2 separate regions of the Homo sapiens genome follow, and region 1 is linked to region 2. Evidence: promoter capture Hi-C in 16 types of primary human blood cells and fetal thymus (Javierre and others, 2016). All regions are on one chromosome and are shown on one strand. The core of a region is centred on a gene start or on the middle of the fragment in contact, and the rest is flanking DNA. Distances in the headings are between cores, read along the strand shown. Region 1 overlaps ABTB3 (ankyrin repeat and BTB domain containing 3). Region 2 holds the start of SELPLG (selectin P ligand).

Region 1 (5,022 bases), core at 2,021-4,520, 1.3 Mb before region 2:
TTTGACCTTGAAGATGCCACTTCCCTGGGCGCATGAATTGGGCTCCCTAGGACTTGGGAGGAGGCGCGTTCCGCTCTCCGCAATCCAGTGCTCCCACTTCCCCACTCCCTCGGGGGGCACGCAGTGCACGGGGGAAGGAGGGGCCTGGCGGCCGTACCGGCTGAATGGTTGAAAGCTTGCACGGCCTAGACAGTCGTAAAGGTGTGTGTGGTGAGACTGGGGTGCGGGAAGACTTGTCGGTGCCAAGTTTTTCCAGAGCAGTTTTTGAGGGCTAGAGCACACAGCTGGTGGGGGCTGCGGGATGGACAAAGCCCCCAATTCCAGCCTCCCAGCTCTTGGCCTCTCCATTCCCTCTGGCAGGGAGCTGCAGCTCTCACCACTTGGCTGAAGGAGCGCCTCTGGGGATCTGGGCAGGATGGAGCTGGCGGGGGGCAGTTCTGGAGGGGGTTGTTAGTTTAGGGCGTCGTTTCCAGCAGGTTCTATCATCGTCTCTTCATGCCCCACTGTTTTGAAGGCCTGACTTGGGTAGGTTTGAACCCGCAGTTCTGTCCTTGAAGGGGGTGGGGCCGGGGCGCTTGTTTTCGAGAGCTCGCGCTGGCGGTGCTGCCCGTCTGCGAAAGCCGGAGCTAGACACTTCAAAGCTTCAATTTTCCACAGGAAATGGTAGAAACGTAACTGGAGACTCTAAAGGCGAAATAAAACTTTGTTACATATTCGGCGGTTTGGCCAGAGGTTGCGCGGTTGGAGCTGAAATGCAGTCTTTCTGGGCAGATTTCATTCATGTTGCTGCCTGTCTGTTTCCCGGGGGCTGGAGGAGCACTGCGGTGGGCGGTGCCAAGGGTGTGCATGTGCGTGTGAGAGTCTGTGTGCGCGCGCGTCTGTGCGTGTGTAAGTGTGCTTGTGAGTGTGCGCAGGAACAAGCGGGCGCGCAGGGCGCCCGGCTCCAGCCGAAGCCTTTGGAAACCGACCCTGCCGCCCTCGGTCCCTTCACCTGGATTTGATCGTCAGTGGGGGAGGGGAAGGAAGGAGCAAAGCGGGTGTGTGTTTGTGTGTGTTGGGGAGGGGAATCCGCACTGATCTCGGAGACTCTTCGGGATCTCTTTGCCAGAGCCCTTCCCCGTCTGCTGCCAGCCAGGGCACAACCCTCAAAGAGAGGATATCTTCGAGGCCACACACACACACACACACACACACACATCCTGAAATATCGACTAAGATGGAAACATCTGGGGAGAAGGCATTGGGCTTTGTATGTGCTTCTTCAGAATGCGGGGATTCACCTGCAAAACCTGGGAGCTTTGGACTGGATTGCTCTTTGTTTGAAACCCTACCTCCACCAAAAAGCACAGAGGGGCTTAATTTCCTTCCTGGTGGCTCCCATGACAATCATCTTTTACTCTTTGCTGCCCCTGACTCCCAGCTCCTTACCCACCTTCTGGGCCTGGAACCTCTTCTTTTTTCTCCCTCAGTATTTCCTTTGGAAGGCTCTAGTGTGGAAATCTGGTCACCCTGCCCTACTTCTGCCTTTGCCATTATCCTGAAGTTGTGAGTTTGGACAAGTCACTTTACATCTTTGGGCCTCAGTTGCCTCATCTGTAAAATAGGGGGCTAGATATGTAATACACCCCCAGGTCCTCTTGTAGCTCTGTGGTAGTTGCTTCTATATTTTTTCAAATAGGTTTTACTTTTATGAACCTTAACAACTTTTAAAAACAGTTTTTGTGTTTACCCTTTTTGGAGGAAGTATAATTTAAGGAAGGAGAAGACCACAGAGTTGGTTTTGGGCAGGGTGAGTGTGTGACGGTTGGGGTTTGCTGCCATCACAACCTCTCCCACACCACAGCGCTTAACTCTTGGGTTTCGGGGCCCCTTCAGCCTCCTCTGGGTATGAGATATACTATGATTTCATTGTGATCTCTTCATGCCTTTTCTTTGGGCTTGTTTAAAATGGCAGGTTGAATATGCAGAAGAGTTAAAGAATGAGTGATTAATTCCTTAGGTATTGGAATCATACATTAAACATCAAACCTATTTCTTAAACTATTTTGTACGGAGTCTTTCTGATCTGCAAGCCTTATTAAGGACAACATACCTTACATAATAGATTTTCCCTCCTTTAACTTGGTAGCATCATTTATTTATTCATTTGTGAATTCATTTGTTTATCGAAACTTATTACAGTTGCCGAATTCTAGGGTCTGAGCAAGTGCTGGGTAAGAGGTAATAACAGCTAACATGTATCCAGCAGGGCTCTGTATATTGACCCATTTGATCCCCAGTACCCATTATATACAGGAAGAAACTGAGGCATAGGGAACTTAAGTATCTTGCTTATTTAAATGCAGATAGCCTGGCTCCAGAGTCCGTACTCTTAACTCCTGTCTGTATGACTCTTTAGTGACAGATGAGTTCCCTGCCTTCAGGCATCCCACCTGCCCTTTATTACCCACACAGGTGAACAGAGACCCTTCCTGTCATATAATTCCTGAATTATATACTTTTTGTTCCTATCAAATGGAACTGGGCAGAACTGGATTTTTCATGTTTTTCTATCCCCTGCTAAGCCTAAGAGAGGCCCTAGTACACAGTTGGAGCTTATTAGATACCTTTTTGAGTTGAGCAAGCTATTGTACTGTATTATACAATGATGTCCTGAAAGAAGCTATTGCTTTTTGAGTTTCTTGAATCATCTTTGCAAGTTTTTCTACTTTGTTGTTATTGTTGTTCTAAAGAAGGGGTCTCACTATGTTGCCCAGGCTGGCCTTGAACTCCTGAGCTCAAGAAATCCTCCCACCTCAGCCGAGTAGCTGGGACTACAGGCAGGCACTGGCTCCAAGTTCTTCTTCCTTGGTTGCCCCTTCTTACTGCCATTTCTGTACCTGTCCACCTTTCTAATTTGCTGCTGCTAAACTGCCCAGGCTAAGGAATTGTGAAACTAGTCACATGGGACTGGATTCAGAAAAAAAAGATAATTGGCTCTAAAGCAAAAGAAGGCTTAGGGGCTCTCGAAAATCACATCCATGGGTTTGCTGTGGGCATGAACTTTGTGGTTATGTAAAAACTTTTCAGAACTGGAGTTTTGTGTTGATTTTCAGCTGTTTTGAAGAGCCGGGGAAACAGCTAAGGGACCCCATTGATGTTTCTGTGGAGTTTTAAAAATTTGACTTGATTGAGCTAAATAAGGAGGGGGCAGAAGTACTTCACTGTGCCTTTGTATGTGCTAGTCATTGTACCTTAAACTCCTTTAGAGCTGGCCAGTTCCTACTCATCCTTGAAGACTTGGCTTCAAGAATGAGTTGGTCTTCCTGGCTTCCTTGTGAGGGCTTCCTTGATGCAACCCCTTCTCCATTCTTATTCATCTCTGTGTCTCCTTCCATATCACTCAGCACAGTGCCTGGCACTTTGTATAACAGATACTCTCTACTGCTTGTTAAACGAATATAACCAGCTCATTCAATTTTAGGCATTTAAAATTTGCCTATCACCTGTAAAGGCAGTTGTTAAGAGAATGGCCTCTGGTGTTGGACCTCTAGGATTTGAATTTCAAGGCTGCCATTTTCTAGCTGTGTGTTCTTAGGTATGCGACCCAACCTCTCTGTCCTCCAGTTTCCTCAGCTGTAAAACAGAGGTAATAATTACAAGGATTAAATGAGATTATGTGTCTAAGCCTATTATAATCTGGTGCTGACACATGGTAGGTGCTAAAATGATGATGATAGTTGTGATAATCCAGGCACAATGGTATCTCATCTCTATCACATCCAGATTAATTCATTCCCACATGCTTAGGGTGGATGGAGCCAACAAGGCACAGAATTTTAACTGGATCCTCCTTTTTATTATAGCACCAAGTAACTCAGTACACCCACCTCAAGGATTGATGCCATGGGCACAGCCCTGTGGCCAGGGTCACAAAAAGATTGTTTTGGTCAAAGGAAAATAGCTTATTTTGGGGAGGCTGAGGCAGGAAGATTGCTTGGGGCCAGGAGTTTGAGACCAGCTGAAGCAACATAGTAAGATCTCAGCTCTACAAAAAATAAATAAATAAAATAAAATAAAATAAAATTAAGTTAGCTTATTTTATTTGCTGTACTTTAAACTTCAATGATATCTACCTTTAGTGAAGAGGCACCAGGAAACTTTCTGGATGTAGTCCCTTATGTTAATTGGGATGTGGGTTCAGAGGTATATGCATTTGTCAAACGGGGTTTCACCATGCTGGCCAGGCTGGTATCTAATGGTAAACCTAGTATTTGTGCATTTTACTGTATTGTGAAATATACTTCAGTTAAAAAAAAGACACACCAAAAAAAAAGCCATAGGCATTCTTGAATTAAATTTTGTTTTAAATGTACAATTTGAAGGGCAGACCAGAAGAGGCAGTATGGAATGATGAAAAGGAAAGGGAGAAAGACCTTACGCTTAGATCTAACCCCAAATTTTCACTCTACCATTCTCTAGCAAGTGACTTAATTTTGCTGAACTTAGTTTTCTCATCTGTACAGTGAGGATTACAAAACAAAAGAAGATGTATTTTAAAAAGGAAGAAAACCCAAACCGAACGCAATGGGCGATTACAAAGATTAAATCAGATACAGTTTATAAAAGCACCTGCCACATAGTAGGCACTCGATAATAATGGCTTCCTCAAAAAACAGATTATTCAGGCTGGAGATAACAATAATACTTGTGGGATTTTGAATAGTCTCTTTCATTTCAGGGATCCCCAATCACTTAATAAACATTAATTAACACAAGCCCTCACCTGTCAGCACGGGCTTGGAGGGTAGGTTGGTTTTCAGGTCTCTTGCTTTTCTATTGTCTCTGCACAAAATGCTTGCTCAGCCGTTTTCCTGTCCCTAAACTGGTCATGCTGTTCTGTTGAGCAGTGTTGCTGTGTTGGACCAAAAATGTCACAGAAGGAACCCATCTTCTTAAGAGGAACAACAAATGCTATCTCAAGAGCCAGCTGTAGCAGTATCTGTGCTCACAGAGCACCTTTTTAATTAACTGGCTTGATGT
Region 2 (5,091 bases), core at 2,592-5,091:
TCTCCTCTTCCTGGAAGGCCAAAAAACAGTCCCACAGAAGTGGGGCCAGGGCAGGGCTCCGACAGAGGCGTCTCCAGTGACCACGTCCTATTTGTCTCAACACTTGCCTAACAGAGTAGGTCAGAGACTGCTCGTTTGCCTCTTTCGCCCTAAAACCAGGCTGCTTCTGGCCCAGGCCCCATCTAGACCCCATATGGGCCCCATCTAGGCTGTGTGGAGGAGCAGGCTGCAGGGGGCCCAGACTCCAGCTCCAGAGAACCCGCCGTGTGGCCGCCCTGAGCTGCTCAGGAAAGATCCTCGTGGGGCTCCACGCCGCTAGGAACCTTGCACTGAGAATCCTGAAACTGGTGGTCAGAGCGGGCAGGATCTTGGAATGCTAAAATTCAAAAGACTGAGCATCTCAGGGTTTGGGTCAAGTAGTCACCAAGAGAAGGAAAGACCCCAGATAACTGAGGCACAGGCAGCAGATCTAAGTCTGGGTAGACAGGACAGGCCCTGCCCTGCCCTGCTGTGCCCTGGGAGTCACATCAAACCAGGTCAATCCCCAGCTCTGTCCCTTAGAAGCTGTGTGACCTGGGGCAACTCACCTCACCTCTCTGAGCTGTGGGTTCCTTAGCTGGAATACAAGGACAATGGTAGCACCCGCTTTTTATGGGGTTGTTGTGGGTTGAAGAGGGCCAGGGAAATGCTGAGTCCTCCCAGAAGCCTTTCCAGATTGCCCCAGGCACGATTAGTCACCTCCCGTGTTTAAATCATTTCTGCTGTTCATTTATTTTCTAAAAATGTATTCACATTGACTCCTAAACTTCCAGAAGGCAGGAACCACAGCTGTCTTGCTGATCAGGCCACAGGCCCAGGATTCAGCCGATGGGCAGGCACACACCCCTCGCAACACTCGCCCCAGTGGCTGGCAACCACTGTGGCTGTCTGCTCTGCTGCCCCCACCAGACCACAAGTTTTTGGAGGGCAGGAGCTCTCCTGGGTCTCCTGGCATCCCCAGGGGCCTCACTAAATGCCTCTGCAGAAGAGGACATGTGACTGAGGCAGGGGAACGTGCACAGAACTGCACAGCACGTGCTGTCTTCACACTTTTCACACCACATTTGCCAGCTGACACTTTGCAACCTCTTTCCGTCATCTACCTCAACTCACATCAGGGAGTCTCTGTAGACATTTTTTCCCACTTATCATCGCCCTTATGAAAGGTTTATTTATTTATTTAATTTTAGAGATAGGGTCTTTCTCTGTTGCCCAGGCTCGACTACAGTGGTGCAATCATAGCTCACTGCAGGCTTGAACTCCTGGGCTCAAGCGATCCTCCCAAGTAGCTAGGACTACAGGTGCATGCCACCAGACCCGGCTACTTTTAAATTTTTTGTAGAGATGGGTTTTCCCCATGTTGCCCAGGTTGGTCTCAAACTCCTGGGCTCAAGCAATCCATCTGCTTCAGCCTCCCAAAGTGCTGGGATTTATAGGCATGAGCCACGGTGACCAGCCCTCCTCATGAAAAGTTAATAGCACAGATATGCTGTATATCTGTTTAATGTTTGGTGGCTTGCAAACCACAGTGTTAGTTGAGATTTTTTTGTTACACCCCCCTCCCTACCCTCCACCCCACCAAGAACCAAGTTACACCTGTTGGAACCCAAACTTGCTGGCCTGATCCAGAGGCAGTAAGGTACTTGGCACAAATGAATTCAATGAGACCTACATCTGGTTAGTTGAACAACTGTCTTTAAACAGTTTTCTAAACACCCCTGTGTAGACAGACAGATTAACAAACACAGACCCCCAACACACACACACCAGCCATCTTATCTCCTTCTAGACCACTGGCCCCCACTGCCATCTTCCTGTTCAAGTTCAGCAAAGGAAGCCGAGACACAGGCCTAGGGTCACCACGAACTCCATGGGCATCCTGCAGCCAGAAGCCATGCCGCCAGAGGCAGCTGCTTCTCCCCTTCAAGCCTCAGTTTTCTCATCTGTAAAAGGGGCACTGTCCACCCTCCAAGGTTCTCGGATGATTGATTCCCCAGCTCCTCTGAATGCCCCACTCTGGGCCCAGCCTAGCAACCCAGCCCTTCCGCTCTCTGAGGTTTAACTCCCCTGGCTGCTGGCCAAGCCTGCTGAGGGAGGCATCAACCACCCAGGGCACGGCCTCGGAAGAGACTCTGGGGCTGTCTGAGGGCCTGGGAGCCACCTTCTGAGGCCCCGGCCCACTGAGGGGCCTGGCTCTGGGGGCCTCAAAGTCAGAGATGGAAAAAAAAGGAAAACAGAAGAAAGAGGAAAGAGGAAGAGAATTCCAGGCAACAGAAGCCCAGATATCGACAATATGGGGTGTGTGTGTGTGTGTGTGTGTGTGTGTGTGTGTGTGTGAATGTGTGTACAGCAGGGCACAACTGGCCCCCACCATTTCCTTTTAGTGTCCTGAAAGTATCTCAAATACAAACTAATAAGAGTATTCTAATTTTTTTTTTTTTGAGACAGGGTCTCACTCTGCCACCCGGGTTGGAGTGCAGTGGCACAATCTCGGCTTACTGCGACCTCCCCCTCCCAGGTTCAAGTGATCCTCCCACCTCAGCCTCCCAAGTAGCTGAGACCACAGGCATACACCACTACACCTAGCTAAGTTTTTGTATTTTTGGTAGAGACGAGGTTTCACCATGTTGCCCAGGTTGGTCTAGAACTCCTGAGCTCAGGCCAACCACCTGCCTCGGCCTCCCAAAGGGCTGGGATTACAGGTGTAAGCCACTGCACCCAGCCAAATATTCTAATTATTATTATTATTATTGTTTTCCCTTTTGCTAACAATAGTATCTTAATTCTAATATTTTAATAGTTTGCCACAGACAAGTGTCATTTCCTCAGTCTTATAAAAAGTGGGAAGAATGCATCTTTCTCTGAAAAGAACTTTTTTATGCGTCCATAACATGCAGCTTCAAGAGAAATCCTGCACTCCCCCTACTTTCTGGAGTCTTCCAGACCTAATCTCAGCTCTGCCCCTAAACAAATCCCTTCACCTCTCCCGACCTCAGTTTCCCATCCAGGAAAGGAGAGGATAAGATCATTTCTAGGGAAACACTCATGGTTTCTCTGATTTTCAAAATCAGAATGCCGCCAAGCCAGACGCTGCAGGCAAACTGGCCAGGGAGGGAAGTAAGTTAATGGGAGGCTGGGGCTGGTGGGTCACACCTGTAATTTCAGCACTTTGGGAGGCCAACGCAAGAGGCTTGAGGCCAGGAGTTTGAGACCAGCCTCGGCATCAAAGTGAGACCCCATCTCTAGGAAAGGTAAAAATATTAGCTGCATGCGGCGATGTGCGCCTGTAGTCCCAGCTACTCAGGAGGCTGAGGTGGGAGGATCACTTGTGCCCAGGAGTTTAAGGCTGCAGTGAGCCATGATTGTGCCACTGCACTCCAGCCTGGGTGACAGAGTAAGACCCTGTCTCAAAAAAAGAAGGAAAAAAAAAGTTGGCAGGAGCAGGATTCAGAAGAGTCACAGAATAAGGCCACAGACTCCAGGAAGACTTTAGTCTTGAGTCGGAGGAGCCTCAGTTTGCCCTCCCCAGGTGCTGCAGCTCAAGAAGGGCCTGGCGGTCCTACCCGGGCCTGCCAGCAGCTATAAGGCAGGCCCTTGGCCCATGGGGACCTCCAGCCACTCCCTGTGGTTTTGCAAGCCAGCACTTACCACCGTGCTCAGCAGAGCATGGGACAGCTGCCTCGTGGGCCCAGAAGAAGTGGCTTCTCTGCTTTAGTGACAAGGTCCCAGCCCACGCTGCCAGGCACTGCTGTGGCACCCCCTGCGGCAGTCCCGGATCCGAGCAACCCCCAATGGCTGTGTGTGGAAGGAGGAAGCGAGAATGTGGTTACTTAGGCAGGGCCATGTGACAGCCCACACCCCATTGTTTGTGACAGCTTTGGTGACAACATTGATAAAGACAGGGTGGTAGTGGGGCACCTCCTAGGTCTGACACTGTTCTTGGGTTCCCATAACTGTGAAAACACTGAGAACCAAGTAGAAGCTTTCTGGGGAGAAGTTCTTCGGTTTTGGGTGGGGCCCAAACTGAGAAAGGCCACAGCATTACTTCAGCAGCAATGGACAGTCGGGGCCAGAGGGAGCCCCCTGAAGGACAGGAGTGACCAGAGAAAAAGGAGAATGGTCTCGCTTCTTGCCCAAGATTGGTGGGGCGTGGGGAGGGGTGGGAGGTGGTCAGGGAGCAAAAAACACAAAATATGAACCTTCAAAGGGTTTGCAAATATGGTGTATTTCTTCTCGCAGGACTCAAAACACTCTCTGTAGATGCACAGCACAGGCCCTTTCAGCTGCAACCAAGAGCCTCTCTAGGGAGCTGGACTACAGATACCACAAGGGCAAGTCCTGCTTATCTTATTTCTTCATCCTAAATTTGTTCATTTGACCAACTCTGGCACTCCAGACTGCATGCCCTGAGGTCTAAAGGCCAGCAATTCTGGGCTGTGGCCCTCTGGTAGCCCTCCATCCAATGGGGAGGCCAGCGAGTAAACAATTCGGTGGAACATCATGCCACAATGACACAGCGCAGTGAGTGCCATCCTGCGGTGAGCAAGGGAGGGGCCTCTCCTTCCATCCTGGGTGGGGGAGGGAGGTTAACAGGAGGAGCTTCCAAGAAGTGGCACTTGAGATGACAAGCCAGGTGGGCATCCCAGGCAGAGAGCACAGCAGAGGCAAAGGCTGGGAGGCCTAAGAATACCCAGACACTTCCAGAAGGGAGGGAATAGGGGGGTCTCCCAGGATCTGCCCTGCGGCTTTGCACCAGGCAAGGGCTCAGGACATGCACAGAAAGATACTCATATCTTGCCTTGCACAAAGTTGTTTTTTTTTTTTTTTTTTGAGATGGAGTTTCACTCTTTTTGCCCAGGCTGGAGTGCAATGGCACAATCTCGGCTCACCGCAACCTCCGCCTCCCGGGTTCAAGCTATTCTTCTGCCTCAGCCTCCCGAGTATCTGGGATTACAGGCATGTGCCACCACCCCGGCTAATTTTGTATTTATAGTAGAGATGGGGTTTCTCCACGTTTGTCAGGCTGGTTGGTCTTGAACTCTCGACCTCAGG

What was found. Contacts are between HindIII fragments. The CHiCAGO score rates a contact against its expected background, and 5 or more counts as called.
Region 1: a fragment that was not itself captured here is called in contact with the fragment with the promoter of SELPLG in region 2 in 2 of 17 cell types (naive CD8 T cells and naive CD4 T cells); the score reaches 7.8 in naive CD8 T cells.

Annotation. Positions count from the first base shown.
Region 1 is chr12:107,320,435-107,325,456 of GRCh38, forward strand. The region is part of intron 1 of ABTB3 (ankyrin repeat and BTB domain containing 3); the gene reads left to right. Among named protein-coding and RNA genes, the nearest start is that of ABTB3, 4.5 kb to the left of the region's middle. The HindIII fragment of the contact is 5,263 bases long and covers 640-5,022 here.
Region 2 is chr12:108,630,053-108,635,143 of GRCh38, forward strand. SELPLG (selectin P ligand) reads right to left here and starts at 3,842. Exons shown (of 2, transcript NM_003006.4): 1 at 3,688-3,842. It overlaps LOC105369968 (a long non-coding RNA gene), which reads left to right. Exons shown (of 3, transcript XR_007063449.1): 2 at 4,279-5,091. RefSeq lists enhancers at 1,756-1,905, 3,314-3,363 and a silencer at 4,604-4,653. The HindIII fragment of the contact is 5,781 bases long and covers 1-4,019 here.